Linked DNA regions of Homo sapiens: regions 2, 3 and 4 are each linked to region 1. The links are contacts of gene promoters, found by promoter capture Hi-C in human tissues and cell types (Jung and others, 2019). All regions are on one chromosome and are shown on one strand. Each heading gives the region's core, a stretch centred on a gene start or on the middle of the fragment in contact. The rest is flanking DNA. Distances are from core to core; before and after follow the strand shown.

The links. The method cuts DNA at HindIII sites, captures the fragments that hold promoters and counts their contacts. A contact is called where the count stands out against the background at its distance.
Region 2: a contact is called between a fragment that was not itself captured here and the fragment with the promoter of ZNF563 in region 1, in 1 of the 25 tissues and cell types used here (H1 embryonic stem cells).
Region 3: a contact is called between a fragment that was not itself captured here and the fragment with the promoter of ZNF563 in region 1, in 6 of the 25 tissues and cell types used here (H1 embryonic stem cells, aorta, dorsolateral prefrontal cortex and 3 more).
Region 4: a fragment that was not itself captured here is called in contact with the fragment with the promoter of ZNF563 in region 1 in 6 of the 25 tissues and cell types used here (dorsolateral prefrontal cortex, heart left ventricle, heart right ventricle and 3 more).

The regions. Positions count from the first base shown.
Region 1 is chr19:12,332,376-12,334,892 of GRCh38, reverse strand. ZNF563 (zinc finger protein 563) reads left to right here and starts at 1,260. Exons shown (of 4, transcript NM_145276.3): 1 at 1,260-1,413. The coding sequence starts at 1,411. RefSeq lists a silencer at 1,027-1,166 and enhancers at 339-1,204, 1,307-1,566, 1,797-1,906. The HindIII fragment of the contact is 22,494 bases long and covers 1-2,517 here.
Region 2 is chr19:12,556,873-12,559,389 of GRCh38, reverse strand. No RefSeq gene overlaps it. Among named protein-coding and RNA genes, the nearest start is that of LINC02926, 6.4 kb to the right of the region's middle. The HindIII fragment of the contact is 3,766 bases long and covers 1-2,517 here.
Region 3 is chr19:12,127,108-12,129,624 of GRCh38, reverse strand. No RefSeq gene overlaps it. Among named protein-coding and RNA genes, the nearest start is that of ZNF20, 12 kb to the left of the region's middle. The HindIII fragment of the contact is 9,523 bases long and covers 1-2,517 here.
Region 4 is chr19:12,179,407-12,181,923 of GRCh38, reverse strand. The region is part of intron 1 of ZNF136 (zinc finger protein 136); the gene reads right to left. Among named protein-coding and RNA genes, the nearest start is that of ZNF136, 18 kb to the right of the region's middle. The HindIII fragment of the contact is 3,876 bases long and covers 1-2,517 here.

The DNA of each region.
Region 1 (2,517 bases), core at 11-2,510:
TTTTTTTTTTTTTTTTTTTTTTTTGAGACCAGGTCTCACTCTGTCACCCAGGCTGGAATGCCGTGGCACGATCTCGGCTCACTGCAACCTCCGCCTCCCAGGTTCAAGTGATTCTCCTGCCTCAGCCTCCCGAGTAGCTGGGATTACAGGTGCCCGCCACCATGCCCAGCTAATTTTTGTATTTTTAGTAGAGATGTGGTTTCACCATGTTGGCCAGGCTGGTCTCCAACTGGTGACCTCAGGTGATTCACCCGCCTCGGCCTCCCAAAGTGCTGGGATTGCAGGCGTGAGCCACCGCCCCGGGCCCTTAAACTAACTTTACATGAAACTTTCCTGTTGGTGAAAATGCACATCTTGACGGTGGGGGCATTTCCACACTCTGCAGAGGGCACAGGGAAGTATGTTGAGCTCCCAGAGTCAAATCCTTCAGTGTCCCAGTCTCATCACCAGGTTTTGGTTCACTCTGGGGTTCCATTTCAACAGTTAAGAGTGGCTGCCAAGTTTGGGCATATGTTTAGCCTCCTGAATGGGACGTTTGCTGAAGTATGAGGGCAGCAGGCTGCTTATCTGCACTAGTTCAAGTTTTTGCTTTTTTTTTCCTGTTGTATTTTTGTTTTGATTCATTCATTCATTTATTGCTGCCGTGTGATTTCAGTTCTTCCACACATTTGATATTTTAATACCGTTCTTGACTTGTTTTTATTTCCTTGGCTGAAAATGAGCAGATTGAGAGGCAAGGTGAGAGAGGAAGGCTTAACCTTGCCGCCAAGAGTCTCATCCTCAAATCCTGATGCCCGGTGGACATCAGGCCACCCTCCTGCTGCAGTGTGGCCTGTGTGGCCTTGGGCTCCCCTCTGCTCTGAGGCCAGGGGAATGGCTCCACTGGACTGTGAGTCTGGGATTCCCTGCAAAACACTTGTGACTCCTTCTCCAGGAGGAAAAGGCAGTAAGGGCCTGCTGAGTACGGGCAGGTAATTCTGCATAAATGCAAATGTTCCCTGGGAGGGATCAGGACAGCACAGGGAGGAAGCCTGCCCTGTCAAGGGCTGTGCCTGGAACTCGTTCATCCCGCTCGACTCAGCACTGTGTGATCGCTTCTTCTGTCACTCAGTGCCCAGGGGGCGGGACCTGGAGCCCTATCCAATCAGAGCTATGGGGCGGGGTCGTGAGAACTGTCAATCAGGCGCACGGCTGGCAGTAGGGTGCCAGGTTCAAAGAGCCCGCGGCGTCTTCACGCCCCTGCGCTCAGCTCTAGACTCAGTCGCTCGCTGAGAGACGCCCTGGAACGTCTGTGTAGCCTCAGTCGCTGAGAGACGCCCTGGAACGTCTGTGGCAGCCTCTGTCACAGTGGGACCCGCACTGGCAGCGGGAGGCAGAGGGAGGACCCTGGAACATCCCGGAAGCCGGGAAATGGTGCGTGTGCAGGGTCAGGCGTCCCAAAAGTGGGAAAGAGCTGGTTGGAACCGTCCAGAACCGGCCGCGGCGAACGTGGGCCTCCCCCGCCGTCAGCTCCGGGGTCTGGGACCCGAGTCCCCCTGGCGCAGCTCGACCCTCGGTCCCCTCAGCCACAGAGTGAGGCTGAGCTGGCAGCCGGGACCCCGGGCGTCCTATCCGGTCCCTGCGCGGCAACTGCGGTCCCGGCCTCGGAGCCCTGTCTGGGCAGCTCCTCGCCCGCAGCCCCCCATCTCCCCAGGATTGGGGGAGGGTCACGGAAGGGTCATGGAGGGAATCCCCACTCGTGTGTGGGGTTCGTGCCTGTGAGGAGCTGTGATCTGTGGGATCCTCAGTCTCTGTTTTCTTCCTAAAGGGGACCGGTGTCCCTCTGAGTCTTCAAAGGTTTGGGAAGGCAGATGTCTAATGCTTATCTTGTCCCCTCACCCTAACTCCTGGGGCTGGCAGTAAATCCCTAGATTTCCAGATTTTGCCCTGCATTTCATAAAGCTGACTTCCTCTCCGTCACAGGGGAACGACTGCTATCTGGGCCGGTAACGCCGGGGTAAAATAATTTTTACTAAGACAGTTGTAGGTAAAGTTATTAGCGAAAGAAGCAAAATCCATCGCAAGGGAGGCCATGGGAAGCCTGCAGGAGAGAAGCAGAGGCTTGTGGGTGATTTTATAGAATGGAACTTGGGCTGATTGATAGTGCCAAGGCAGCAGAGTGCCAAGGCAGCAGGGAGCTTAACTTGCATTCCTCTGTCAGCCCCGGTGTTTGATAAATTGAGGCGTTTGATGGTGAGCAGGAAGTCTGTGAATTAAGTGCGTTATCTGGGCAAGAAGGCCATGTCTTGGGCCATAAAGAAAGTTAGACATGTACAGGAGTTCCAGACCAGCCTGGCCAAGATGGCGAAACCCCTTCTCTACTAAAAATACAAAAATTAGCCAGACGTGGTGTCACATGCCTGTAATCTCAGCTACTCGAGAGGCTGAGGCAGGAGAATCGCTTGAACCCATGAGGCGGAGGTTGCAGTGAACTGAGATCACGTCACTGCACTCCAGTCTGGGCCGGCGACAGAGAGA
Region 2 (2,517 bases), core at 5-2,504, 220 kb before region 1:
TCCTGGGTTCACGCCAGTCTCCTGCCTCAGCCTCCCGAGTAGCTGGAACTACAGGCTCCCGCCACCACACCCGGCAAATTTTTTGTATTTTTAGTAGAGACGGGGTTTCACCATGTTAGCCAGGATGGTCTCCATCTCCTGACCTCCTGATCCACCCACCTCGGCCTCCCAAAGTGCTGGGATTACAGGCGTGAGCCACCGCACCTGGCCAGTGGTGTACTTTTTAACAAAAATTTATTTTGAGGTCATTGCATATTCACATGTAGGAAATTATACAGCCATTTTCTCTCAATGGTAACATGTTGCATAGCTGTAGTACAATGTCCTAATCAGGAAATTTCATCTCACCCACCTCCGTCAACCCAATGAACAAGTACAGAGAGTACACTGTTCACAGAGGTGGTTCAACAATTCTACTTCCAAAGAGTATTTCCCACCAGTTTTTTTTCTTTTTTTATTTTTTGAGACAGAGTCTCACTCTGTCACCTAGGTTGGAGTGCAGTGGCACGATCTCAGCTCACTGCAGTCTCTGCCTCCTGGGTTCAAGCGGTTCTCGTGCCTCAGCCTCCTGAGTAGCTGAGGGATTACAGGCACTCACCACCAAGCCTAGCTACTTTTTGTGTTTTCAGTAGAGACAGGGTTTCGCCATGTTGGCCAGGCTGTTCTGGAACTCCTGACCTCAAATGATTCACCAGCCTCAGCCACCCAAAGTGTTGGGATTACAGGCGTGAGCCACTGTGCCCCATCAGTTGTTTTTTTTTTTTTGTTTTTTTTTTTGAGACACAGTCTCGCTCTGTCACCCAGGCTGGAGTGCAGTGGCGCAGTCTCAGCTCACTGCAAGCTCCGTCTCCCAGGTTCACGCCATTCTCCTGCCTCAGCCTCCCAAGTAGCTGGGACTACAGGCACCCACCACCACGCCTGGCTAATTTTTTGTATTTTTAGTAGAGACAGGGTTTCACCATGTTAGCCAGGATGGTCTCGATCTCCTGACCTCGTGATCCACCTGCCTTGGACTCCCAAAGTGCTGGGATTACAGGCGTGAGCCACCGTGCCTGGCCCCAGCCCCATCAGTTTTTAAAAGTTATTTACAAAAAGTATTATTTGCCGGGCGCAGTGGCTCATGCCTGTAATCCAAGCACTTTGGGAGGCCTAGGTGGGTGGATCATCTGAGGTCAGGAGTTCAAGACCAGCCTAGCCAACATGGTGAAACCCTGTCTCTACTAAAAACACAAAAGGTAGCTGGGCATGGTGGTGCACCCCTGTAATCCCAGCTACTCAGGAGGCTGAGGCAGGAGAATTGCTTGAGCCCAGGAGGCGGAGGTTGCAATGAGCCGATATCGTGCCACTGCACTCCAGCCTGGGTGACAGAGTGAGACTCCGTCTCAACAAAAACAAAAACAAAAAACAGTGTTATGCTACTACTACTTTTAAATACATGAAGCACTTCCAAATATCTAGAAATACTAGATATTTCATCTAACTTGTCCACCATGTACACGCACTGTTAAATAAAATTCCACACATGTAACCGTGGTTATAATCTGAGGTATCTCCTAAATATGACCATTTTGGCCTTGAACCATTCCCTCCTCACTTCCTTCTCTCTGCTTTCAATCCAGTGGACAAGTACACGCATGTGTAATGCTTAGAGATGGTTGAACAAACTCCTATCCAAAAGTCATCCACAGAAGACAAGTTTCCTATGAATTTCAACACAAAGTATACAAAATATGCTAAATTTACTAAGTACTTTATCACACACTGGCAACCTCTTTAACATCCAGCAATTAGATGTTGCAAAATCAGGATGCATTTGCCCATTGTATATGCTATATACAGAGCAAAACAAAATGCACAAAACATACAGAAAAATAGTGTCTGAAAATGTCCAATTATGAACACACTGGCCTATTACCTTTTGCAATTTCTTCCCTCCCACCTCCTCTAAACTATCGAACAACTATACACAGTACTACACTGCTCACAAAGGTGGTTAAACAATTCAATTTCCAAAAGGCAGTGTTTCCTATAAATTTTAACAAAAAGATATTTACAGTGATATTTCACTACCTCTATATTTAATATACGTGGGACACTTCCAAACATCTAGGTAGACTAGACATTTGAAGTAAGGAGTTAATTTTTCCACTATGTAACAGCAGTCTTGAATAAACTGCAAACATGTGACAACAGTTATAATTTGAAAGTCTTCCAAATATGAACATTCTGGCCTAGAACCCTTTCTGTCTCCATCAACCCAGTGGGCAAAAATGCTCAAATTTTCAGAAGACAATATTTCATAGGAATTTTATTTTTTATTTTTATTTATTTATTTATTTATTTTTGAGACGGAGTTTCGTTCTTGTTGCCCAGGCTGGAGTGCAATGACAAATGTAGAGTTCGTAAATGAATATATTTTGCATATTTTGTTTTAAAATTCCTAGGAAAGGCCAGGCGCCTTGGCTTGCACCTGTAATCCCAGCAGTTTGGGAGGCTGAGGCCAGCAGATCACCTGAG
Region 3 (2,517 bases), core at 12-2,511, 210 kb after region 1:
CTGGCCCAAAAATTCTTATTTTGACTATTCATGTCTTATTTTTGCACTTTTTCACAAAGCAAGGTCAAAAAGCAAAGGAAAAATCCTTTAAGATCAATGTACTTAGGTTGAAAATGTGTTTTTTCTCAGGAAAAACTTGTAATTTATATAATTACAATCCTCAGTTTATTTGCAGCATCACCAAATTTTCTTACATATTTCAAATGTGAACTTAAGATATATATTTTTCTCATTATTTACATTTTGCTTCCTACCTATGGCTTTTTTTTTTTTTTTTTTGAGACAGAGTGTCGCTCTGTTGCCTAGGCTGAATTGCAGTGGCACGATCTCAGCTCACTGCAACCTCTGCTTCCCAGGTTCAAGCAAGTCTCGTCACAACCTCCCAAGTAGCTGGCACTACAGGCGAACACCACCATGCCCAGTTAATTTTTGTGTTTTTTGTAGAATTGGAGTTTCACCATGTTGGCCAGACTGGTCTCTAAACTCCTGGCCTCAAGCGATCCATCTGCCTCGGCCTCCCAAAGTGCTGGGATTATAGGCATGAGCCAACATGCCTGGCTCCTCTAGACCTTTTAAATCTTTTACTCATGATATTGGTCAGCCCACGGTCAAAATAATTCATAAAAGGTATATACAAAAATTCAACACCACAATGAAAGTTAAATTCATTTGTTTAGAACCACTCAAGCAACTCAGGTGTACACAGATAGACCTGTGGCAACTGGTGAACAATTAAATGGCACAGAAGTGGCTGGGTGCAGTGGCTCATGCCTGTAATCCCGGCACTTTGGGAGGCCGAGGCGGGCGGATCATGAAGTCAGGAGATTGAGACCATTCTGGCCAACATGGTGAAACCTGTCTCTACTAAAATACAAAAAATTAGCCGGGCGTGGTGGCGGGCTCCTATAGTCCCAGCTACTCAGGAGGCTGAGGCAGAGGAATCCCTTGAACCCGGGAGGCAGAGACTGCAGTGAGCTGAGATCGTGCCACTGCACTTCAGCCTGGCAAAAGAGCAAGACTCTGTCTCAAAATAAATAAATGGCACGGAAGTTGCAATAATGACCTCTGCTGTGCAGTACTCTCTTGGCAGAGATACACAAGAACTCCAATAAGGCCCTCATATGATATGCAGAACTGCCTCAAACATCATGTGACCATAGAACTTTGCCAAGGACAGTCTTTTTGTACATCTCTGCACCTGGCTTACCCAAAGATTGGACTGGGCGCATTTCTCAAGCCATTGTCTACTGAACGTTCTTTGTAGCGTGTGGGGCAATGACGATTGCCTAGGTGTAATTTCCTAATCGCTGGGGTAGGTCTGGTTTCTGAGGGCCCAGCAGAGGAACTCAGTTCACAAAAATGGCTTCCTGTAGTTTCTGCTTGATACTTCCTATTCTGCCATCTTCCCAGAATCCTCTTTCCTGACTTCATATACTAACACGTCATTTCAGATCTCACTACAGATGTCACCACCTCAAGACACTGTCTTCTTTTCCGCCCCCCTTACCCCAACTTGAAACTCAAGGTCACACTCTCTCACCCATTACTCCTATTTCATTTAGTGTGTAGAATTTTTTCAACACACTTGTCAGAATCTGGAACATAACGTTCACAGGGTTGATTGCTCTCTGTTTAACAAGGTAAAAAGTTAAGTCATGTAGGCTGGGTGCGGTGGCTCACGCCTGTTATCCCAGCACTTTGGGAGGCCAAGGTAGACAGATCACGAGGTCAGGAGATCGAGACCATCCTGGCTAACATGGTGAAACCCTGTCTCTACTAAAAATACAAAAAATTAGCCGGGCGTGGTGGCGGGCGCCCGTAGTCCCAGCTACTCAGGAGGCTGAGGCAGGAGAATGGCATGAACCTGGGAGGCAGAGCTTGCATTGAGCCAAGATTGTGCCACTGCACTCCAGCCTGGGTGACAGAGCAAGACGCTGTCTCAAAAAAAAAAAAAAAAAAGTCATGTAAATTTAAGTGTCACCTTTCTTTTCTTTTCTTTTTTTTTTTGAACCTTTTCACCAACTGTTACACACTTTTTTTTTTTTTGAGACAGAGTCTCGCTCTGTCGCCAGGCTTGAGTGCAGTGGTGCGATCTCAGCTCACTGCAACCTTCACCTGCTGGGTTCAAGCAATTCTCCTGCCTCAGCCTCCCGAGTAGCTGGGATTACAGGCACGCACTACCACACCTGGTTAATTTTTGTATTTGTATTTGTATTACAGATGTGAGCCACCGCGCCTGGCTTACACCCTATATTAAAAAGTATTTCAGGGGCCAGGCACGGCGGCTTATGCCTATAATCCCAGCACTTTGGGAGGCCAAGGCGGGCGGATCACTTGAGGTCAGGAGTTCTAGACCAGCCTGGCCAACATAGTGAAACCCTGTCTCTACTAAAAGTACAAAAATTAGCCGGCTGGGGTGGTGGCCACCTGTAATCCCAGCTACTCGGGAGGCTGAAGCAGGAGAATCACTTGAACCTGGGAGGCAGAGGTTGCAGTGAGCTGAGACTGCAACACTGC
Region 4 (2,517 bases), core at 8-2,507, 150 kb after region 1:
GTGGCTCACACCTGTAATCCCAGTACTTTGGGAGGCAGAGACAGGCGGATTGCGAGGTCAGGAGATCGAAACCATCCTGGCTAATATGGTGAAACCCTGTCTCTACTAAAAATACAAAGAAATTAGCCGGGCGTAGTGGTGGGTGCCTGTAGTCCCAGCTACTCGGGAGGCTGAAGCAGGAGAATGGTGTGAACCCGGGAGGCGGAGCTTGCAGTGAGCCAAGATCACACCACTGCCCTCCAGCCTGGGCGACTCAGTGAGGCTCTGTCCCCCCCCAAAAAAAATTAGCTGGGCGTGGTGGCAGGTGCCTGTAATCCCACCTACTCAGGAGGCTGAGGCAGGAAAATCGCTTGAATCCAGGAGGCGGACATTGCAGTGAGTGGAGATTGCGCCACTGCATTCCAGCCTCGGCGACAGAATGAGACTCCACCAAAAAAAAAAAAACAAAAACAAATGCAAAAACAAAACAAAACAAAAAAACCAAATAGTTGATAACACTGTGCATCCGAGAACAGAAGCTGGTGTTGGGGACTGCAGAAATTATACCTACAATTTAGCAGTTTGCTGCCAGATCAAGGAGAGTTAGGCCGGGGGTGGATTTGATACCCTGCTTCCCACACATTTGAGCAACTCAGATGAAACAGAATCGGATGCTGATGGCGAGGAGGCCTGGGCCCCTCCAGCCATGTCGGACCCCAGGCCCCTGCACACTTGCCATTTCCCACACTCGCCATTTCCCATCTTCGGGGTCTCCTGGGTCCTCCCTCCGGCTACCACGGCCAGCACAGAGCACAGAGCCAGGGCAGTGGAGCCAGGAGCCAGAAGAAAGGTAATGCAGCCAGCTCAAGAAAAGAAAATTCACCACAAGATCGTACAGGGTGGGGTGAGGTTGGGGGCAGACAGGGCTCTGAGGCGCGCCTGATTGGACAATAAGTAGGATGCCATCCTGGCACCCCTAACTGGATATAACTTCAGGCTCCGCCCCTGTGGCTTAAGGGGCAGAACACTTAAGATGTTTCAACAGGGATCCAACGTGGTTCTAGCACACACCGTATGCAGTGGTGTGCCTTCCTCCAGGTTCCAGATACCCATGTCCAAAGTCAGCATCACATATTACATGCATTAAAATTTTTAACCAATGCAAAAATGACAATAAGCCATACCTATATCTTTACGGGGAATCATTATTGTTAACCTCAAAAAGGCAGGACTGTCTATATTGCTATGCACTATCTACATCCACACTTAAGCAGTTCCTGAAATGGTGCTGAAGATGTATAAGAGGTGGAAATATAAATGACCGATGGTGACATTTCTTCACTCACTGATGTTGCCACCCTCCACAGAGAACATATACACACACCCTCAGCTTCCGTATTATCTCACACCATCATTTACTTTCCTTCAAAGTGCTTATTTCCTTCTTATAAACCAGTCTTACCATTTTTTCAACCCCTCTCCTTTCTCACAAAAATATAAGCACCAGGATTTCAAGAATTTATTCACTTTGTGTTCCCATATCAGAGCCTTCAGTGCCTGCATCATTTGTGCTTAATTCTGGATGTTCTGAGTCTACAGTTCTGGCATATGAGGCATATTGAAAAATTAGCATCAAGAGCATATTATCTGAGCAAGAGAGGCTTGATTAGAATAGTGATCATGTCTCTGTCCCTTGCTAGGTTTATATTCTGACAACTTTCCTAGAGGCATTAGCCTAATTTGACTAATAAGGGAGACTTTTAAAAATTATCAGTAGTTGGCCGGGGGCGGTGGCTCACGCCTGTAATCCCAGCACTTTGGGAGACCGAGGCAGGCAGATCACGAGGTCAGGAGATCAAGACCATCCTGGCTAACATGGTGAAACCCCGTCTCTACTAAAATTACAAAAAAATTAGCCGGGTGTGGTGGCGGGCACCTGTAGTCCCAGCTACTCGGGAGGCTGAGGCAGGAGAATGGTGTGAACCCGGGAGGTGGAGCTTGCAGTGAGCCGAGACTGCGCCACTGCACTCCAGCCCGGGCAACAGAGCCAGACTCTGTCTCAAAAAAAAAAAATTATCAATAGTTAGAATTTATATATTTCAACTGAGGTATCTTATGGGAAGCCATGTCTAATTCATCATAAGAAATATTTCAGTGTTTAGGTAATAAACTTAGCGCCACTCCATCTTTTTTACTTCTGGGTAAGAACTATCATAATAACCAAGGCCAGAAATAACCTTGCTTCTTCATAGTATACAATCCAGAGAAGCTTCTTGCTTTGAATAGCAATCAATACACCTGAAGCAAGCACACGTCCTAGAAGAAATTCTTTTGGGCTGGGTGTGGTGGCTCACGCCTGTAATCCCAGCACTTTGGGAGGCCGAGGCTGGCAGACCACCTGAGGTCAGGAGATCGAGACCACCCTGGCCAACATGGAGGAACCCCGTCTCTATAAAAAATACAAAAATTAACCAGGCATGGTGACCTGTGCCTGTAATCCCAGCTACTCAGGAGGGTGAGGCAGGAGAATAGCTTGAA